Linked DNA regions of Homo sapiens: all the other regions are linked to region 2. Evidence: promoter capture Hi-C in 16 types of primary human blood cells and fetal thymus (Javierre and others, 2016). All regions are on one chromosome and are shown on one strand. Each heading gives the region's core, a stretch centred on a gene start or on the middle of the fragment in contact. The rest is flanking DNA. Distances are from core to core; before and after follow the strand shown.

Region 1 (3,082 bases), core at 454-2,953, 640 kb before region 2:
ACATGATGGGGCCAGGCCCTGTGGCTCAGGATAGAGAGGCATGCCCAGGCCAACTGGACAGCCATTCTCCAGCCCCATCAGGCCAATTGTGTTCCTTCTGGAACCCCAGGTGATCAATCTGTCGAGCAATGATTGTACCTGAGAGTACACCTAGGAACCCCCAGGGTGATGGAGCCTCTGCTGGGCAGAGCAGCTGAGCCTCGGGGTGTGGCATGGAGCAGAGGCTGGCACTGGCAGGGCCCTGGGTCCGGGAATGCTTGGCTGCAAGGCCCCCTGGCCTTTCCACAAGGGATAATTCTTAAGCATTTTAAGTCCTCCTTGCCCACAGCACAGAGCAAAATCCAACTGGAATTTCTCCAAAGGGGTAGATTGCAGCCTGCTCTCAAGTTGAGAATGGAGGAGGAAGAACCTAGCCTGGGGGAAGGAAGAGAGCTAGGGAGATCCAGACCTAGGGAGAGGGGCCTCATGGGTGCGCAGGAGTGAGGAAGACACAGTTCTGGGCATTGGGAGATGAGAGTTCCAGCCCTGACTCTGCCTCTAACCACCATATGACCTTGGGTGCATTTCTTCTCCTCTCTGGGCCTCCGTTTGTACATCTGTTCCAGGAGATTCTTTTCTAGCCACGCTCCTGGAGCCTCAGGAGACTGTGTATGTTTCTCCAGGGATATAAAGGAAGCTTGAGAAGGACAAGAAGAAGAGGAAGGAGGGAACCCTAGAGAAGGTGGCCCAGTCCTGGTCCTCCTGTCTTAAACCACTTCTTTCTGTACCAGCTCTGAAGCTGTGGTTTATTCTACCATGCCCAGGATGAGGCTGGTGGTACTGGGCTGGCAGCTGGAGGGCTATGGTGGGGCTGGAAGAAACCAGAGCCATCTGATCCATGGGTTCCCAGCCTGGCTACACATCAGAGCCATCTGGGGAACTGGACTGGGGTGGGGGTGCTCTCCAGGTGATGTTTTTAAGTAGCCAGCTTAACACCAGGAAGCCATGTTTGATATCCCTACATGAAGTCCAGCTCCCTCATTTGATAAATGAAGAAATTTCGGCCAGTGATAGAAAAGAGTTCCCTTAAGGCTAACAAGGTTAGCATAAGACCTAGGGCTAGTAATGCTTATCCAGTGCTTTTAACTGAGGGCCTCCTGTGCACCATCATTTTTGTGCAGGGGTTGGGAAAGACAGTGGTGCTGTCTTGAGGGGTTCCTGTCACTCCCAGGACAGTGTCTTGCCCCTTAACCAGTCTACCTCTCTCTCTGCTTTCCTCAATCCCACAGAAACAGTGCTCCTAGCTGGGATGGGGTAGACCCCACACTAGCTGAGTTTAGTAATCAAAGAAGCTGCCTTCTCGGGCCGCCTCCTTGGGCACAGCCCCAAAGATCAAAGGAGATGGGAGTTTGAGGGGAGATGGGAACACCTACTGAGCTTGAGGAGACCCTTGGTGGGCCCATCTCTGAGCAACTTTGTCTGGCCTGCCTCCCCCTCAGGCGTGAATGAGGTGGATTACTGCCTGTACCCGGCGCGGGAGACCCAGCTGCAGTGGCTGCACTACTACCTGCAGGCACAAAAGGGGATGGCCGTGACCCCCAGGGAGGTGCAAAGGCTCTACGTGCAAGTCAACAAGTTTGCCCTGGTGAGTGCCTTATTTCTAGGGCTGGGGCAGGAAAGGAGGAGTTAGCAGGAGGGACTGGTGACCCACCTAGCCTCCTACCCAGAGCCCAGGGTCAGGTGAGAGCCTGGGGACACCCATCCCTGGCTCCTGACCCCACCCTAGAGGTGAAGCCTGGGAAGAGCCATCTTAGGCAGCTCTTAATACTTGATGCCCTGTTCCCTGCTCCCCAAGCCCCACCAAGTCTAGGCTCTCTCCTTTCTAGAGAAATACTTCCAAGAAATATCCTAGCTTCCTGTGTTAGCAATTCCCTTGTTTGAATAAGTAGTTCTTTCTACTGCCTAACCTCAGCCCTTCATGCTGCAGTTAAATTCATCCATATATATGTATATATACTTTTTTTTTTTTTTTTTTGAGGCAGAGTCTCACTCTTGTTGCCCAGGCTAGAGTGCAATGGCGCTATCTCGGCTCACTGCAACCTCCGCCTCTCAGGTTCAAGCCATTTTCCTGCCCTCAGCCTCCCAAGTAGCTGGGATTACAGACATGTACCACCACACCCAACTAGTTTTTTTGTATTTTTAGTAGAGACGTGGTTTCACAATGTTGGCCAGGCTCATCTTGAACTCCTGACCTCAGGTGATTCGCCCGCCTCTGCCTCCCAAAGTGTTGGGATTATAGGAGTGAACTACTGCGCCCGGCATATATATATATATATATATATATACTTTTTTTGAGACAGGGTCCCGCTCTGTCATCTAGGCTGGAGCACAGTGACACAATCATAGCTCACTGCAGCCTGAAACTCCCAGGCTCAAGCAATCCTCCCACCTCAGCCTCCTGAGTAGCTAGGATTACAGGTGTGCCACCATGCCCGGCTAATTTCTTTAAACTTTTTGTGGAGATCAGCTATTGCTATGTTGCCCAGGCTGGTCTCTAACTCCTGGCCTCAAATGATCCTCCCACCTCAGCCTCCTGAGTAGCTAAGGTTATAGGCGTGAGCTACCATGCCTGGCTATATGTGTGTGTGTATATACATATATATTTTTTTAACCTTTAGAGAAGATACAGAATATCAAGCTCATACTTCTGTGTAACTACCTCCACTGACTCAGAACTCTAAGTAAGCTTTTCCCAACAGGCTCTTCCTGCTCAAATGACTGTGCTGTCAGTTCTCAATTTTCAGTGCCCCTTATCCAAGATACCTGGTTCATGCCAGGTCTCCACCGGTGTGTGCCCAGGGATTGCTAATGTTGGCTTGCAGAAGTAAGAAGACAAGTCAGCTGCCTTGAATTTCACAGTACAGAAGAGAGCTAAATACAATCTTTACTTTTCTGTAATTTCGGATTCCCTATTCTGTTTTCCTCACTGGCACAAAACAGAGTCTACATTAGGTTCTTCCTCCTCAGTCTTAAGACTTTAAGACCTTAAGCACAAGCCTTCCTCTTGCTAAGTTTTTTAGTGATCATTCACATGTGCTAGCTT
Region 2 (2,977 bases), core at 195-2,694:
GACTGCTAGTCACTAAGCTCGATTTAGAGAATGTCAACATCAAATAATCTTATGGGGTCTTTTTGTTTGTTTGTTTTTTTGAGACGAAGTTTCATTCTTGTTTCCCGGGCTGGAGTGCAGTGGTGCGATCTTGGCTCACTGCAACCTCCGCCTTCTGGGTTCAAGCGAATCTCCTGCCTCAGCCTCCTGAGTAGCTGGGATTACAGGCACCCACCATGCCTGGCTAATTTTTGTATTTTTAGTAGAGAAGGGGTTTCACCATATTGGCCAGGCTGGTGTCGAACTCCTGACCTTAGGTGATCCACCCACCCTGGCTTCCCAAAGTGCTGGAATTACAGGTGTGAGCCACCGCGCCCAGTTGACTCTTGTGGTTTTTTATAAAGATCATCCATTCATGCATTTGCTCAACAAACATTTATGGGTGTCTATTGAGTTCCAGGCACAGGACTTGTCTCTGTGGGTACAGAATGAATGAGGCACAGCCCTTCCTAGGAGCACCTAGTCTCTTTAGGAGACATGGACTTACAATGAAACATACAATGTAAAAAAGAATGTTAGTTTATGAAATATACTTCTAAATGCAGCTTTTTAGAAACAGATTATTACAGATAAAAGAGTTCTTTGTGTGTGATTGCATGAGTGTGTACGCATCTGGAAATTTCCTTAGATACCTGTGTATATTTGTGTGTGTGTGCACACAGATGCCTGCGTATGTATGTGATATGCATGTGAGTACAAATGTTCATGTAGTTCGTATATGTATAGACGGGTCAGGAAATGCATGTGGTGTGGTTTTGTATCCAGGCATAAGTGTATACAACAGTCATACCCAGTGTAGGCTTAACACAGCCCTCCCCAAAGCTAGCTGCACAAGTTTCTAGTAGACTCTCCCTCTTTCTTTCTTTTAAAATTTTTTTTATCTTTTAATTTTTATTTTATTTTCTATTTTTAAGACGGTGTCACTCTGTTGCCCAGCCTGGAGTGTTATGGCATGATCTCAGCTCACTGAAGCCTTAACCTCCTGGGCTCAGGCAGTCCTCCTGCCTCAGCCTCCCAAGTAGCTGGGACTACAGGCGTGTGTTACCATGCCCAGTTAACCTCCCCACCCTTTCTTAATTTTAGCTGGGCAAGGGGGCAAGCCTCTAGCAGTAGCAAGAGGTGTTTCTTCACCTTACCTCCCATACCTCACCCCAAACGAATTACATAATCTCAAAAAAAATTTTTCTAAGAGAGTTTAGTGCCCACCCAAAAGTCTTGTCCAACTTCTTTGGCCAGAGGCCTAAACTCTCTTCATTTTCCCTTCCCAATCCCCTGCCCCAGCCAAACACTTTGCCCTCATTTGCGCACCGATGGCCAGAGGCCTCAACCTTGAGCCTTACCCCTTCAATGCTTCTGGATCCTGGATGGAGAGCCCTGCAGCTTCCAGAAAGGTGGGGACTCTGGTGGAGGCTGTCTGAACTGGGGCTTGGGTTAGACAGTGGTGCCCGGGGGAGGGCAAGGAGTTGGCCAGGCCTGCGACCAATCAGACTTCTCATTCCTTCTGATGTCCAGCTGTTTCCCCTCCTCTTTCCTCAGGGGGTCCCCTGCCCCATTCCTGTATTTGACAAAAGAGAATTCTCCCCCCACCTTCCGCTTCACCCCCCACCTCCAGCTCCTGCTCTCTCTCCTCTTACTCTGTCAGCTCCTTCTTTCTTTTCCTTGTCCACTCTCCTGATAAGGCCACATCTTTGAGGAACAGGGAGTGCCATCCCCTGCAAGGAAGGGGCCCCATCCCTCAGATTCTGAGTCCTCAGAGAAGGCTGGAGTCGGGGGATATGGAGAGATAGAGCTTGTCTTTGCAGCTTCTTTCTCCAGCCAGAGAGTGACAAGGCTTCAGCTTCATAGCCAGAATCCAAAGATAAAAATAGGTGGAAATGAGGCACTTCACCCTCACCTAGAGCGCCAGCACAGAGACCATAATTGAATAAAATCACCAGAGACAGGAGCTGCAGGCCTAGGTAGTTCAAAGAGAAGGTGTATGGGGGATGAGATCGGATTTGAAAGCCAACTTCAAGTTCACAGATGATGATCATGAGGATACGGGAAATTCTCTAAATCTGCTAGGAGGAAACCAAATGGAAATTGGGAGGTGGGCCCTAGAAAGGATCATAAACACCAGTAGACATTGTGTAGGGTCTCGGGGGCCTGGGAAGTATCCTCTCCCGCACCCTCAGAGATGTACAGTCGTCCCTCAGTAACCATGGGGGATTGGTTCTGCACGTCCAGTGGATACCAAATCCACATATGCTGAGGTCTTTTATATAAAATGGTGAATTTGCACATAACCTACGCACATCCTCCTGTGTACTTCAAATCATCTCTAGATTACCTATAACACCAAACACAATGCTTACACCTCACTCCATTCACATGGATTCCACATAGTACTGGCACACAGCAAATTCAAGTTTTCCTTTTTGGAACGTTGTGAATTTTTTTTTTTTCTGAATATTTTCAATCTGTGGTTGGTTGAATCCACGGATGTGGAACCCACAGATACAGAGGGCCAACGGCATTCATCTGGAAACACTCCCCTTTCCTTGGTGCCTCGAGCAGGCTGCCGAGCAAGTCCTTGCTGAAGGCAGAGGTGGGGTGGCTAAGGAGTCTTCCCCAGCTTCTGCCAGCCTGTGCCCTGGCGCCCACCCAGGTTTCTCAGTGACTCTCCTTGTTCCCTACTCCTTTCCACCAACCAGATACTGAATTCCAGCTGTGAGGCCCCCTAAAGATCTAGTCCAAGTCCTTGTGGTATAGATGAGGAGAGTGAGGCCCAAAGAGGTGACGTGACTTGCCCTAGGTCACACAGAGCCAGGGCCAATGCCTAGATTTTTTGACTCCCTGGTCAGAGAGTTTTCTTTAGTTCATATGACCCTCCCCATTTCCACCTTCTTCCCCAGGAGTCCTGAATCCGTGTGTTTCCAGGCCCTCAGAGCAGATGGCT
Region 3 (3,119 bases), core at 140-2,639, 870 kb before region 2:
TAAGGGCTTCAGTTGGTAAAAATGATATATGTACTCAGATCACACTAAGAGAGACCCACTTGTATTGGAGTCAAGAGGCTTAATTTTTTGATCAAGTTGTTCTAATAATAAACAAAAAATGCAATCACCAGGTGAGTGGGGCCTTGCAGACACCCTTTCTCTAGCTCCTGCTTCTTGACATATTTCTCTATTCAGAAGTGACTCCAGAAGCTCATCTGGTTCAGTCCCCAGTTTCCAGGTTTAAGGGGCAGATGGGACTGAGACCAGCGAGCCTGCCTGGAGGTTGAGGTGGGAATCTTTTGGTTTTTTCCATCTTTCTGATCCTGTTTATGAAATCAGTGTTTTTATTACACTTGCCCATTGTCACAGAGAATCCGTGGATAGAGGAAAACTGAGAGAGATGTGGATAAAGGGAAACTGAGGCAGAAAGCAATCTTTGTCTAAGCAGAAACAGAGCTACGACCCTATTGTCTGAAGTCCTTCCTTCTGCCTCTGATCCTGAATAATACAGAACCCAGGTACCCCGTAGCTTGGCTAGCATCCTTGCTCAGGGTTATCAAGACCGATTTGGGCAGGAGCTAGAGAAAGGGTTTCTGCAAGGCCCCACTCACCTGATAATTGCATTTTTTGTTTATTATTAGAACAACTTGATTAAAAAATTAAGCCTCTCGACTCCAATACAAGTGGGTCTGTCTTAGTGTGATCTGAGTACCTATATCATTTTTACCAACTGAAGCCCTTATCTGTAAAGGAATGTGCAACGGAAGGAACAGGAGCACAGACTTCCCTCCCAGGGCCTGGGAGGAGCCTGGCTGGTTGGTGTGGGGGCAGTGGCTCCACAACCCACTCACACCCCACTCATCCTGGCATCTCATAGTGGCCCCCAACCCTCTCCAAATGTTATTTCTCTAAATTCACCATATTGGGGGGGGGGCGGGGGATGGGGAGGCCCCAGGGCCCCAGCCAAGCCCTCTTGACACCTAGAGACGTGCCCCTCTCTGGAGTAGACAGCCACAGAGGTGAAAGGTGATCACCAGGCTGGCTGGGTGAGGCCCCACACATGATTCTAAGACCCTGGGCAGTTTCTGGCTCCCTGCAGTCTCTTGTGGGGGACTCTAAAAATGCAGCTTACCCAGACGGTGGCCCTGCTCCCCTTTGGGGGGCAGCCTTCTCCTGGTGGTGGAAGGCCCAGGAGGCTGTGCTGAGCCACCCCATCCTCTCCCGGGCAGGCAGGCTGCGTGGATGGTTAGCAGCTTGTCGCTGGTGTGGATGGAGTTAAACCTTTTCGGGGACTATTTACTCCTGATCCTAAGTGACAGCTTGGGGAGGGAGAGTCACGTGGCCCTGAAATCCCCGGGGGAGCCGATGGAGCATGCCCAGCTGCCTCTGCCTGGGAAAGATGCTGGATCCTGCAGTAACCACAACAGCATCCTCTCCCTGCGCCAGGGACCTGCCAGCCGGAGAGATGACTGATTAGATCAGATTAGATCCGGAGCCCCGCTCTGCAGAAGGGGGCCCCAGGGGCGGGGGAGGAGGACCCCAGCTGGCCTGAGCTGGGGGGAGGGGTGCCTTGGGGCTCGCAGAGTTAGAGCTTTCCAGCGCGGGGATCACACCTCAGAAGCCGGTGAGTCTGTTTTCATGCATCACATAGATGAGGTGGGAGGAGGAAGGCTGGGCTCTGGTCAGGGCTGGCAGCTGCCTGTCTGCCGCGTGAGCCTGGGCTGCTTGCACTGCGGAGCACTGGCTTCCCCATCTCTCATCCTTGGCAGCCTTACTTGGGGATCATGGATGCTGAGAATGCTAATTATAGCCCTCCCTGTGCCCCCACCCCCACCTCCAGAGTCCCCTGTCAGGGCTGATGCTGTTTAAATTGATTACATTTGAATTGCATCTCCTGGATGAAGGCAGCGTTGGGGCTGGCAGCTTCCTAGGGTCCAGCAGGGGTCCCCCACGCAAGCTAGCACAGAGAGGCCAGCCCACCCTCCCTTTAATCTTGCCAGCAGGAAGGAGAGAGGGAGGGGGTCCAGGGTCAGGCTCAGGTCAGCCCCAGGGACTCACCTTCCTCAGCGTGGGGAGGGGTCAGGGTGTGTATCATTCTTATGAGTCAGAGGTTGGGTCGAAGGGTGACAGAGGCTCTTGGATTCCAATTCCTAGGACGCATCTGAGCTCTGGGGGTCTCAGATTTAGTGGGGAGCTCTTGAAGGAGCTGGAGCCTGGTATGTGGTAGAGGAGGGCAGGGAATGAGGGGATGGCATTTATAATGATGGGACCAGGCTGCAGCCAGCTAAGAGCCTCGAGGTATTGTGTGAGGAGTCTGAGGAAAGGAGGACAGTTGGGGGACTGGCCAGAGAAGGGTAAGGAGGGCTACAGTGGAAGGGGAGGGAAGCGGGGCGAGACAGGAAAGTGGCGGGGGTGGGGGAGAAGGGAGAAGAAGGGAGAAGAGGCTCCTGGGAAATGCTCTTTGAGACAACAGGCCAGCCAGGGCAGGGAAGGGGGCTGTGGAGCCTGGGAGAGCAGAGATGGAGAACCGGGATAGAGGGAGAGCCATCCCCGGGGCACAGGGGTGGGGAGGGAGAGCTGCAGGAGGGTGGAAGGTGGTGGGGAGGAGGCTGGAGCTCAGAGCTGGTGTCAGAGGAGGTTGCAGCCTTCAGGGATTGGAGGCTCTTCCCAAAGCCCTGTAGACCCTTTACCCTCAATCTGATCACTTGAGTGGTGCACTCTGCTGAGGGTCTCCTGCATGGTGGGGCAGGGTCCTGGCTGGCAGGTATCTGCCTGAGCCCACTGTCTGGGCAGGTGCGGGGGCACTGCGGGCACTTGCCCTACAAATCTCCCAAATCCTGTTTTCCAGGCCACCCTGGAAGAGTATGAAACTGAGGAGGGCTCCTGTGGCTAGGACGGTTCAGTCGCCAGCTTTCACCCCCGAGCAGCTGCATTTTAGCTTCAGCAGGACATGAGCAGACCCTGCTGGTGGAGGGGAGGTGGGAGCGGCTAGGCTCTGGCCTGTCTCCAGGTTGGGGTGGCAGGAGGGGCTGAAGGCACCCCTCCTGGCACTGCCACTGGGCTTTCCTTATGGAAACAAGCGAGTTTCTGTGTCTTTGCACAAGGGCACAGAGTGCCGA

Evidence for each region. The method cuts DNA at HindIII sites, captures the fragments that hold promoters and counts their contacts. A CHiCAGO score of 5 or more calls a contact.
Region 1: a fragment that was not itself captured here is called in contact with the fragment with the promoter of OPTC in region 2 in 1 of 17 cell types (naive CD4 T cells); the score reaches 7.7 in naive CD4 T cells.
Region 3: the fragment with the promoter of PLEKHA6 here is called in contact with the fragment with the promoter of OPTC in region 2 in 3 of 17 cell types (total B cells, total CD4 T cells and naive CD8 T cells); the score reaches 9.1 in total B cells.

What each region holds. Positions count from the first base shown.
Region 1 is chr1:204,135,646-204,138,727 of GRCh38, reverse strand. ETNK2 (ethanolamine kinase 2) reads left to right here. Exons shown (of 8, transcript NM_018208.4): 6 at 1,479-1,624. Among named protein-coding and RNA genes, the nearest start is that of ERLNC1, 4.2 kb to the left of the region's middle. The HindIII fragment of the contact is 2,049 bases long and covers 679-2,727 here.
Region 2 is chr1:203,492,620-203,495,596 of GRCh38, reverse strand. OPTC (opticin) reads right to left here and starts at 1,444. Exons shown (of 8, transcript NM_014359.4): 1 at 1,380-1,444. RefSeq lists a silencer at 1,723-1,951. The HindIII fragment of the contact is 16,129 bases long and covers 1-2,977 here.
Region 3 is chr1:204,358,199-204,361,317 of GRCh38, reverse strand. It overlaps PLEKHA6 (pleckstrin homology domain containing A6), which reads left to right and starts at 1,389. Exons shown (of 23, transcript NM_014935.5): 1 at 1,389-1,624. RefSeq lists enhancers at 1,501-2,136, 2,252-3,119. The HindIII fragment of the contact is 7,112 bases long and covers 1-3,119 here.